Linked DNA regions of Homo sapiens: region 1 is linked to region 2. The links are contacts of gene promoters, found by promoter capture Hi-C in blood cells and fetal thymus (Javierre and others, 2016). All regions are on one chromosome and are shown on one strand. The core of a region is centred on a gene start or on the middle of the fragment in contact, and the rest is flanking DNA. Distances in the headings are between cores, read along the strand shown. Region 1 overlaps LINC00620 (long intergenic non-protein coding RNA 620). Region 2 holds the start of IQSEC1 (IQ motif and Sec7 domain ArfGEF 1).

Evidence for each region. Contacts are between HindIII fragments. The CHiCAGO score rates a contact against its expected background, and 5 or more counts as called.
Region 1: a fragment that was not itself captured here is called in contact with the fragment with the promoter of IQSEC1 in region 2 in 1 of 17 cell types (fetal thymus); the score reaches 6.2 in fetal thymus.

Annotation. Positions count from the first base shown.
Region 1 is chr3:13,655,635-13,660,528 of GRCh38, reverse strand. The region is part of intron 1 of LINC00620 (long intergenic non-protein coding RNA 620); the gene reads right to left. Among named protein-coding and RNA genes, the nearest start is that of LINC00620, 7.4 kb to the right of the region's middle. The HindIII fragment of the contact is 1,196 bases long and covers 1,942-3,137 here.
Region 2 is chr3:13,070,052-13,074,842 of GRCh38, reverse strand. It overlaps IQSEC1 (IQ motif and Sec7 domain ArfGEF 1), which reads left to right and starts at 1,414. Exons shown (of 14, transcript NM_001134382.3): 1 at 1,414-1,851. The coding sequence starts at 1,829. RefSeq lists silencers at 1,039-1,218, 1,339-1,498. The HindIII fragment of the contact is 20,266 bases long and covers 1-4,791 here.

The sequences.
Region 1 (4,894 bases), core at 1,290-3,789, 580 kb before region 2:
CTTTCTTGAAGCCATTGTTCTTTGGGTTTTTCATTTACAGTCCAACCCTCCTATTGCATAGATGGGGCAAGTGAGGCCTGAGTCAGGCATTGACCCATGCGATGAGTCAGGGCAGAGCCAGGGCAGAACTAACAGCACCTGCCTTGACCTCTTGTGAGCCCCTAGGATACCTTGGTTCTGACTCACCCTTAAGTCTCAGGACTAGAGGTCTTCAGGGGTCCAACAGCCCAACACCTGCCCCTTTCACAGCATTACTGGCAGATGGTCAGCCAGGTGCTGCTTGGACATCTCAGGTGACTGGGAGAATGGTTCCTCCCTCCCAGTCCAGCCCAGTCCTGCTGAGTTCCAACTGGGAAACCCGGGCCACACACAGAGGTGGAATTGGCCTCCAGTCCTTGGCCCCAGCTTACCCTCTGGGCTCACGCAGGGGCAGAGACCAGGACTCCCTGAGGCTGCTTCTCTCCAATCTCATGGGCATTTGCTGCCCTGCCACTCTCTGAATTCTGCTTTTGGGAAGAAGTTCAAGCAGGAGAGAGCAGGGAAGAAAATACAGACTCATTGGGGCCTTCTCAGACTCTGGGCTTTGATCTCAGTGGATAACAGAGCAGCGGAAGCTCACCCAGGCCTCCCATGTCACAGGAAGGGACCCAGCGCGTGTTGAGCCCTGGCTGTAGACCATGTAGAGCACTGAGTGCTTTTCATACACTGTCTGCTTCAATTTCCATACAATGCTCTAAGGAAGGCCCAAATATTCACCCCATTTTACAGATAAGGAAACTGAGGTGCAGAGAAAGTTGCCTAGGATGGCCTTGCTAAAACATTCATCTTCCACCCAGGTGTGTCCCACTCCAAGATGTGCACTCTTTCTGGGCCCAACCATGCCCCTCAAACCTCGAGCAGGTCTCAGTGCTGGGTCTGCCACTGGCCCACTGCTCCTCAGCATCCCACGCCCACCCCACGTCCCAGTCAGGACAAGACTCCAACTTGCAGCAGAAATTATGAATAAGGCAAAAGAAAGTTGTCCTGGCCCCTGTGCATGCCTTAAGTATTTAAATTCTTTTTCATAATTATCTCAAATAGTAATTATTGCAGGAGCAATGCGCTTATCGCAGACATGAAACCACCTGCCTTCCCATTTTTGTCAAAAGTGGAAACACTGACATTATTTTTGCGATTCGTTTCAATAGCTGTTTTCACTGTAAATACCACCTTAACCACAAGAAAAATACCCCGGGAGACGCTGGAGGTATTGGAGGTTTCAGAGGAATTATTCCAAGAGGGCTGTGGGTGTCTCCCAAGCACACAGAGAGAAAGGAACATGGAAAACTGTTTCCTCTCCAAGCCAAGGGGGAAAGTGCACCCCGGGGAAAAGTCCCGTGGAAGGGGGCTCACAGGTGCCCCCCCAAGTCCCCTTCCTCCTCTCTGCATCCAACTGCCATCCACACTGCCACCTCCACCCACCCACCCTGGGCTGCCCACCTACTGGAAACACCTCATTCCCTCTGAAAAACATCAAAATCAGGAGGCTCCCTCCCAGGCACCATCGGGAACTAGGGGCCGCAGCTCCAATAGGAAGTTCGAAGAATTCAAAGACTAGAAGGGACCAGATTTCCAAGAATGCAGCTTTCCAAGATTACACAGTCTGGCATGGGTGTGGGCGGGGGGAGGTTGGAGAAGAAAAAGGAACATCCGGAGCTGCAGCCTGAGAAACCACCTGCCCTAGAAGGGAGGGCCCCAAGACATGGTTGGATGAGCCGTGAAGGGAAGCAGGCATCTTGGATTCTAGTCCTATGCCTGCCACAGGGTGGCCTTGGCCAGGCTGCCAACCCTCTCCCGACCTCAGCGTCCCCATCTGTCAAATGGACAAAAGTCTTGAGGGGACCCCTGGGCCTCTCATTCCTGGTGAGTATATGGTGGGCAAACACCTCTTCTTCCCAAGCTTCAATGTTCTCCTCCGAATAGCAGGTCTCTCCCGACTCTAAGCCCCCAGGTCATCAATGCAATTGTCATGATTACTAGTTATTGTCACTGGGCATTGACTAAGTGCCAGGATCTGTGCATGCATTATGCATGTGTACCTGGCATACAGAAGATCCCCACACCATAGTCCTACCATCACTTTACGAGGGTGGAAACTGAGACTCAGGGAGTTGCCCAAAGTCACACAGGTAGTTGTGTGAGGCACACATGGTTGCAAGAAGACAACGTTCCCGAGCACTTGCGATGTACCCCCCTAGAGATGAAACTCTGCTTGCTGCCACTTCACAGATGCAGGCATGGAGGCTTGAAGAGATGAGCCTTCCAGAGCAGTGGAGTGGAGCTGTAATTTCAGCAGGCACTGTTCATGCTGCTTAGGAGGGAGGAACTTTCGAAGAGAGATGTGATGCTGGGTACAAAGAAGCAGCAAGGGAGGGGTCCTGTCTCCAGCCCCGGCTACCTGGGAGTCCCCAGGGTGCTCAGATTCAGTCCTCACCCTCCGCCCTCGTCCCAGCCGTGTTCTCTGCTGCCTCCGTGTGGTCGCTGGGGTTGACGCAGCCTTCCGGAGCCACGCAGCTCTGGGGCTGTGGAGCTTTGGGGCTGTGGAGCTCTGGGGCTGTGGAGCTTTGGGGCCGTGGAGCTTTGGGGCTGTGGAACGGGCTTGAGTAAGGAAGGGGTGACTGCACCGGGCAGAAGGCAAGAGGGCACTGGGGTGCAGGGCACAGTACTGCCCGGGAGTCTCGCTCACTACACTCCAGCCACGCCTCTTGTCAGCACATTCCCACTTCCCAGCCTTTGCTCCTGCAGGTCCCTCTGCCTGGCGCACTCTTCGCTTCGCTTTTCACATCATCCCATTTCCCGCCCAATGGCAGCCCCGCTGTCTAACCAAGGCCCCTCGCTGGTGCCCTCTGACCCCAGTCCTGCTTTGTTGTTCATCTTCCTACTTGTCTCCATCTAATGTCATACTATCGATTTGTTTATTTGTTGACTATCAAATTCTCCAGTAAAATAATATCAGCTCCAGTGTCTGGCACACAGTAGGTGACCGATAAAGACTTTTGGAAAAATAACTGCATGAACATTTCCACTAAATAGCTGTCCCAACTTGTTCACCCCCATACGGCAGCTATGAGTAAAACTGGGAGACTTCTTCATAAGCTTGGGACCTGTCTTCCCAAGGTCCCGGTCCTGCCCACAGATCTACCAGCTCCTCCTAACCCTTCTGCCCCAGGACAACCCTGCAGAGAATTAGGGACAGCAGTGGGGACCCCCTCCAAGCTGAGCCACCCCATCTCCTGACAGAATGCTGTCTCCAGGGCTTGCTGTTCATCTCAGGGTCCACTGATGTGTCTGGAGCTGAGCATAGGAGCCAGAGAGCTCAGAGAATAAAGCAAAACTGGATGTCCCCTCCCTCGTTGCAAGTATAGACCTTTGGTAATGTGGCCTGACAGACACAGTCATCCACTCAACAAATATATCTTCATGCTGCTCCATGCTGATACAGAGGGGTCTATAGAAATGAATCAGGCATGGACATTGCTCATGCAAGAGACATACGGGCTTGGCCCACTTCGTCCTACACACCTCTGTCTGGCCATGTGGCTTTGGGCAAGTCCCTTATCCTCCTCTGCTTCAGTTCCATGTAGGTACAGTGCGAGGCTACTGAAGATGGTCACAAAGCCCCCATCTCACTGATGTTGAACCTGTCCCTGCTCTGAATCTGTGCCTTCATAAGCACCCACACCTGGTGTGCCCACCTGCCCCCTCTCCAACTACTGTTCACCTCCCACTTGCTGCTCAGGGCATGGAAGCCACAGCAGGGAAGAGGGATGGATGGCTCAGGGGACAACCAGGGGCACCGAGGGCTGCCCTCCACCTGCCCAGCACCTTTCGAGGATGGCCCGACAGCTGTTGTCATCACTCTCTCCTGGGAAGAAGGAGACAGCCGGCCCAGTCTCCCCATGAAAGCCTCCCTTGCTGTGTGATAAAGTAGGGGAGACTCCTCCCCATGTTTGCTAAGCACCTATGTGTGCTACACCCCATCCCTGACGTGCCCCGCATGAGAGGCAGCAGTGCCCATTTTACAGATGGGGAGCCTGGGGCTCAAAGTGTTTTGCAACTGGCCCCTGCCACCTAGCTGGTTTGCATCTCCAAGGCCTCAGTCTTGGCCTGGCACAGACTTCACCACTGTGGCTCAATGTACTGGGGCCTCTCATTTTCCTTTTCTTCCCAGGAAGAGAAAATTTTGGACCAAATATTCCCTGCAAGGTAGATCCTGCTATCTTTCTCAAGACCCTGAATCTCTGTGCTCCAATGTAAGTCTCTGGGCTCCTGACCCTGTGAGTCCAATCCACTGTAGCGAGTGATGGTAATCATCACCTCGGGTGCTGTGCTAGAGCTTAACTGCACTGGGTGTCCAGTCCTTGCCACAACCCGATGGGGCTGGTACCATCAGCAGCCCCATCTCACAGATGGGAAACCTAGGCCCAGAGAAGTTAGGGGACTTGCCTGGAAAATGGCAGAGCTGGGATTTGAACCCAAGCCATCCGGGTGCCTCATGGCTACACTGTACTGAAACTCTGAGGGCAGGGGTCCTGAATTCTGCCGCTGAGATTCCAAAGCAGCGATATTATAGACACCTAAGAGAGTGTCATCTCCTTAATGGGATGTTCCCGGGACTTCCTCCTCCTGCTCTCTGGGAAAGCCTTCAGGCCCAGAAAAGGATGGCACCTGTCTGTGCCTTCCAGAGAGGTGGCCCAAGGCGCCCTGCAGTCTCTGGTTATCTCTGGGCAGCCACTCCCCTCGAAAGTGCGAGGGGGAGGTGGCTCCCTGGAGGAGGGGTCCCCTAGGGTTAGCTTGGCAGGTCCCTCCAACCCAGGTCCCACTCACACAGGCACTAATGGCACTAATGGGGGAA
Region 2 (4,791 bases), core at 165-2,664:
GGAACTCAAGGATGCAGCATCACTCCTTCTAAATTCGGTGAGTGTGAATCTGGAGAGAATGGAAAGAGGAAGGGAAATGGCCCTGTGGGCTGCCATCCACATCCAGCCGATTCCCAGTCTCAACTACTCCCTCTCTCATTTATTCCTCCCAGTGAGGCAGCTTTCAAGCAGTCAAGAACCAAGACTCTGGAGCCAGACTGCCCGCCAGCTATGTGGCTTGGGCCAGTTGCTGAACCTCTGGCTTTAATGCGCTCCCCCGTGAAGTAGGATGATAGTATTAGGCCTCATTGGGGTTGTCTTGAGGATTACCGTGCACGGAAGAATATTATCTACATGCCTCTGAGATAGGTCTGGGATTCCTGGTTTACAGATGAGGAAGCAGAGAGGATCAGATGAACATCAGACAGGAAGAGAGAAATCTGTGTGGGAAAGGCGGGTGTGGGAGCCGAGGATGGATGTGCGCTTCTCCCCTCCACCTCCCTGTCGCACACTGCACCACGCTGGCCTCCTCTGGGCCAGTCAAATACACCAGGCTGCCTTCCGCCTCAGAGCCTTGACGCCAGCTCCTCCCCTGCTTCTTGCGTCATCCGAGTCTCAGCCACACGTGCCTCACAGAGGGCCTTCCCGACCACCCCGTCTGATGGCAGAAGCCTCCTTCCCGCCTCTCTTGGGGTCCCTGCCTCCCCTCTTCCTGCTCTCTTTTCATCCTGATCCTTATCACCACGTGCAATCCTATATCTGCACACTTACTTCCTGGCTTCCCCTTAGACTGTAAACATCATGAGGGCAGATACTTGCCCGGCACATGGAAGGTCCTCGGGAGAGGAAGAGGCACCATAGCTAGACCAGAAATTCTCCCTAGCCACGTGCAGCCCCCTTTGGGACAGGACTGGCACAAACGAGGACTGCTCTGCCATCCACCGTGCAGCTACTGGCGTGGTGCGCCCTCCTGGAACCCCGTGGTATAGCTGTTATGATCCCTTTCACAGTAGCATAATCAAGACTCCCAGGAGAGACGCGGCTTGCCAAGGTCTCATCGCCCTTCAGTGGCAGAGACAGCCTTGGAGTCGGCCGGCCTCACTCCAGGGCCAGAGCCCCGAGAGCTCCGCGGCTCGCGTGTCTCAGTGCCGAAGGCAGAAAAGCCGCCTTGGAAAGTAGTGTCATCGTAGGCTCCGCGCGGCGCGTGCATTTTAGCAACAGACTTCCAGGTTTCCAGCGCGGGCCAGGAAGGGGCCGGCGCCCCGCGCCCCGCCGGGTGTGTGACTTTGCCGCGAGGGCGCAGCCGAGCGGCCGCGCCTGATGCTGCTGTTGCCATGGCGACCAGCGCCTCGGCGATTGGTCCGGCGCGGCCGCACTACGTTGCTCCTTGGGCGCGGGGGGTGGGGGAGGCTCCGGCGCGCCCGCCCCTTCTCCGGATGCTGCGAGAGCAAACCCGGGGCAGCCTTCTCTCGACCCTCCCCTCCTCATCCCCGCGCCCCGCACCCCGGATGGACGGGAGGGAAAAACCCCAAGGTGGGCCCAGGTAGCAGCGAGGTGGACGCCCCCGCCCAGCCTGGCGACCACGGTTACTCGACGTCCTCGCTCGCTCCTGGGCACGGTGTGAGCGCGCGCTACGTGCCAGGGCCCTCCACAGCCCGCTGCTGGCGCCGCCCCCCGCTCCCGCCCCAGCCTCCCTGGAGGAGCCCGCCACCCCCGGGAATGTGACTCGCCCCGCGATTTAATTTTATTCCCCTCCACTTCTTGCCTGAGCCGCCTGCTCCTCTTGGAAACACGTTGAGCCTCCCCGCTGGAGAGGGAGCCAGAACAGGGAAGAACGGATTCACACAGGATGGCTTGCAGAAGACGCTATTTGTGAGTATATGTGGCAGGTTTCTGCCTGAAGCCAGAGGCCAGAGGGGCCCGGCTGAGCTGGGAGCTGGAGTGAGGGGCATCGTTGGGGGAGGGGCAGGTGGATGTGCAGGTGACTTGCAGAGGGAGCTGGCCACCCAGCAGGGATGCCGGCGCTCGGCCCCTGCAGCGGAGGTGTTTGTTGGTGATGACGATGAGAAAAAGGCTATTAGTCAGCAGGTCTTCAGCAGGCTGTGAAATTCCCAACTGTGAGAGCAGGTATCCCCCCTCCCAGATCCACATTCAGGGTGCCCAGACCGGCTCCTACTGTTTTGGCTTTGGTTTAGCCCATAGCCTGTTTAGGAAGAGAATCTCTGCCCAGCACGCCCATGGCCAGCCCTTCAGCCATGCCTGATAGAAGGTCGCAGGCAGGCTGAGGCAGTGGCCAGGATGCTGCGTCCTCCAAGGGCAGGTGAAGGTCCAGCCCACCGTCCCTAGCACGGAGGCATCAGTGTCCAGCTGTGTGCCCAGGTGTTCTGTGGGCTGGCAGCAGAGCGGCTGTGTGCTGGGCCTCACGCCAGCAGCAGAGGCTGTGAAAGTCTGCACGGGGCGGTGACATCACGGGCCCGGGTATTTATGGAAACCAAAGCCTGCGCTTCGGTTAGCCAGGCTTCCCAGGGGGCAGTGGGGTTCGAATGCCAGCTTCCCTCACAGCTCTCTGGGCGCTGCACTGTGCTGTTCTAGGAGGAGCAACCTTTGCCCTCCTCTGGGACCCTCGGCTGCGGGGGTTGAGGCCCAGCGTCAGGTCTCCACCTGCCTAAACTATTTGCCCAGGACCCACTCATTTGGGGCTGTGCAGTGACCTCAGACCTTAGGAGGTTAGAGAGCATGGCTGAGTCCTCTTGAGCTGGGCTCAGTCGCAAGGCTAGGAAAAGGAGGCCTGGAGCAGTATGTGGGGAGCCTTCTGGGGGCTACCCCAAGGCCTCCCTAATCGATGGAGGCCCCTTACCATGGCAGGGGCCTGTGGAACCCCTGATAGAGTGGCAGCTCCCCGTCACCTCCACTGAGGGAAAGTAAACACACCTCTGCCTCTGCTGCGTCAGCAGTGCCAGGCGGCAACCCACGGGGGATGGCGGTGGCCTCTGGTTCGGGGGATGGCGGTGGCCTCTGGTTTGGGGGATGGCAGTGGCCTCTGGTTTGGGGGATGGCAGTGGCCTCTGGTTCAGGGAATGGCAGTGGCCTCTGGTTCGGGGGATGGCGGCCTCTGGTTTGGGGGATGGCGGTGGCCTCTGGTTCGAGGGATGACGGTGGCCTCTGGTTCGCTGTGATGCTCACTTGCTTTTTTAGTGGAGAAGCTCACAGGTTGGTTTGTCGATGCGAGCAGAGCACACCAAAGTTCTCACTCCCTGTGGCAAGGCCCTCGCTGCATTTTCTGAAACAAATAGTAAATCCTTTCCCAGCGTGGAACTTCCACCCCAGTGGCTGGGAATAGGTCCTCCTGAGACAGCTGTCTCCTCCCTGCCACACCTTTGCCTGGGCCCAGGAGCCTGATGCCAGAGAAATTCTAAACTCTCAGGGCTGTTACATCGGGGAGGGGAGATGTCATGAGGATGAAATGTGACAATTCATATTCAGATTACTTGGCCCAGTGCCTGCTTGCCTCCAATGCTCAGAAATGTCATCCTCACAAAGGCCTTGTCTGGGCAGGCACTAAGAACCCCATTTTAGAGATGGGGAAACTGAGGCTCAGCACAGTTCTACTGGAACCCTGGAGTATACTAGCCTGGGGTGGGGGTTGTAGCCCAGGAGCTATACTGGAATCACTTGAGGAGCAGTTAAAGAAACAAACAAAAAAAAAAAAACAAAAAAAAACTGTGTGGGTCCCACCCCCAGACATTCTGGTTTCTAGGTTTGGGGGAGGGCTCAAGCCTCAGGATCTTTTTCATTTTCCGGATGATTTTAATGTCCAGGTGTGGTTGATGTTCCCGTGATGCAGCTATTCACTGTGGCTGCGTTGCCCAAGCCTATCCAATTGCAGTTTTGCAGGGACAATGTTCTATATGGATTCCAATACTCTTCCCTGGAGAGTCTGCTTCAATCTGTTGGGGGCCCAGCCACCTGCATTTGAACACGTGGCTCTGGTGGATTTGCTGATTCCTGGAATAAGCTCGTCTAGCCTTCCTGCCTAAGAGAGGGGCTGGCCCGAGGGGGCTTAGCGCTCACTGTCTTTCTTTTCTGTGGGTCTTTTCACTCTTCTCCAGCTCTCAGGCTCCCAGTCTGAGCATTGTGACTCCCAGGCCATCCCCGCTCTGCCACCAAACCTATTGGCACCAGAAATACCAAAGATACTTGGAGGGGGTGGCTCTGTTTGTACGCAAGGATCTTGTAACCAAGAGCAGGCCTTTCCTGAGGTTACCCTGCTGCACTTGATAAGCCTGTGTTTGCCCACCATTACTCCCCACCCAGAACCCGCGGCAGGCCCACTTCTAGGCCCAGGCTCTCCCAGCACCTGCTGCTCAGACCTTATTGTTACCCTGCCTTTCAGTGTGGAAAGGAGATGGGGTGTTGAGCATCTCTAGATGTTTAACTTTCCCAACAGTTGCACTGTAGCCACTATCAGAGCTGCCCAACTTGATTGCAAAGCGTTCTCATGCTTAGTTGCCTCATGGGGTCTCACCAACTGCTGTAAAATGTGATACTGTCGATCCCGTTTTACAGAAGAGGAAACTGAGGCTCAGAGAGGGGAAGGAACTTGACTGGGGTCACACAGCTGTTTCCTGCCGTACATTTGGCAGTGGTGTCCCTTCCCCAGCATGCCACATGTCAAATCGGGACAGACTTGCTCCAGCGGCCCTGTGCATGGCACAGCCAGGCTATCCTCAGCCTAGTGGAGCCCTGCCGGCGGGCCCCCACCCCCACCCCACTGTCCTCACTCCCTAGCCTCCATTTTCGCCACTTCCACTC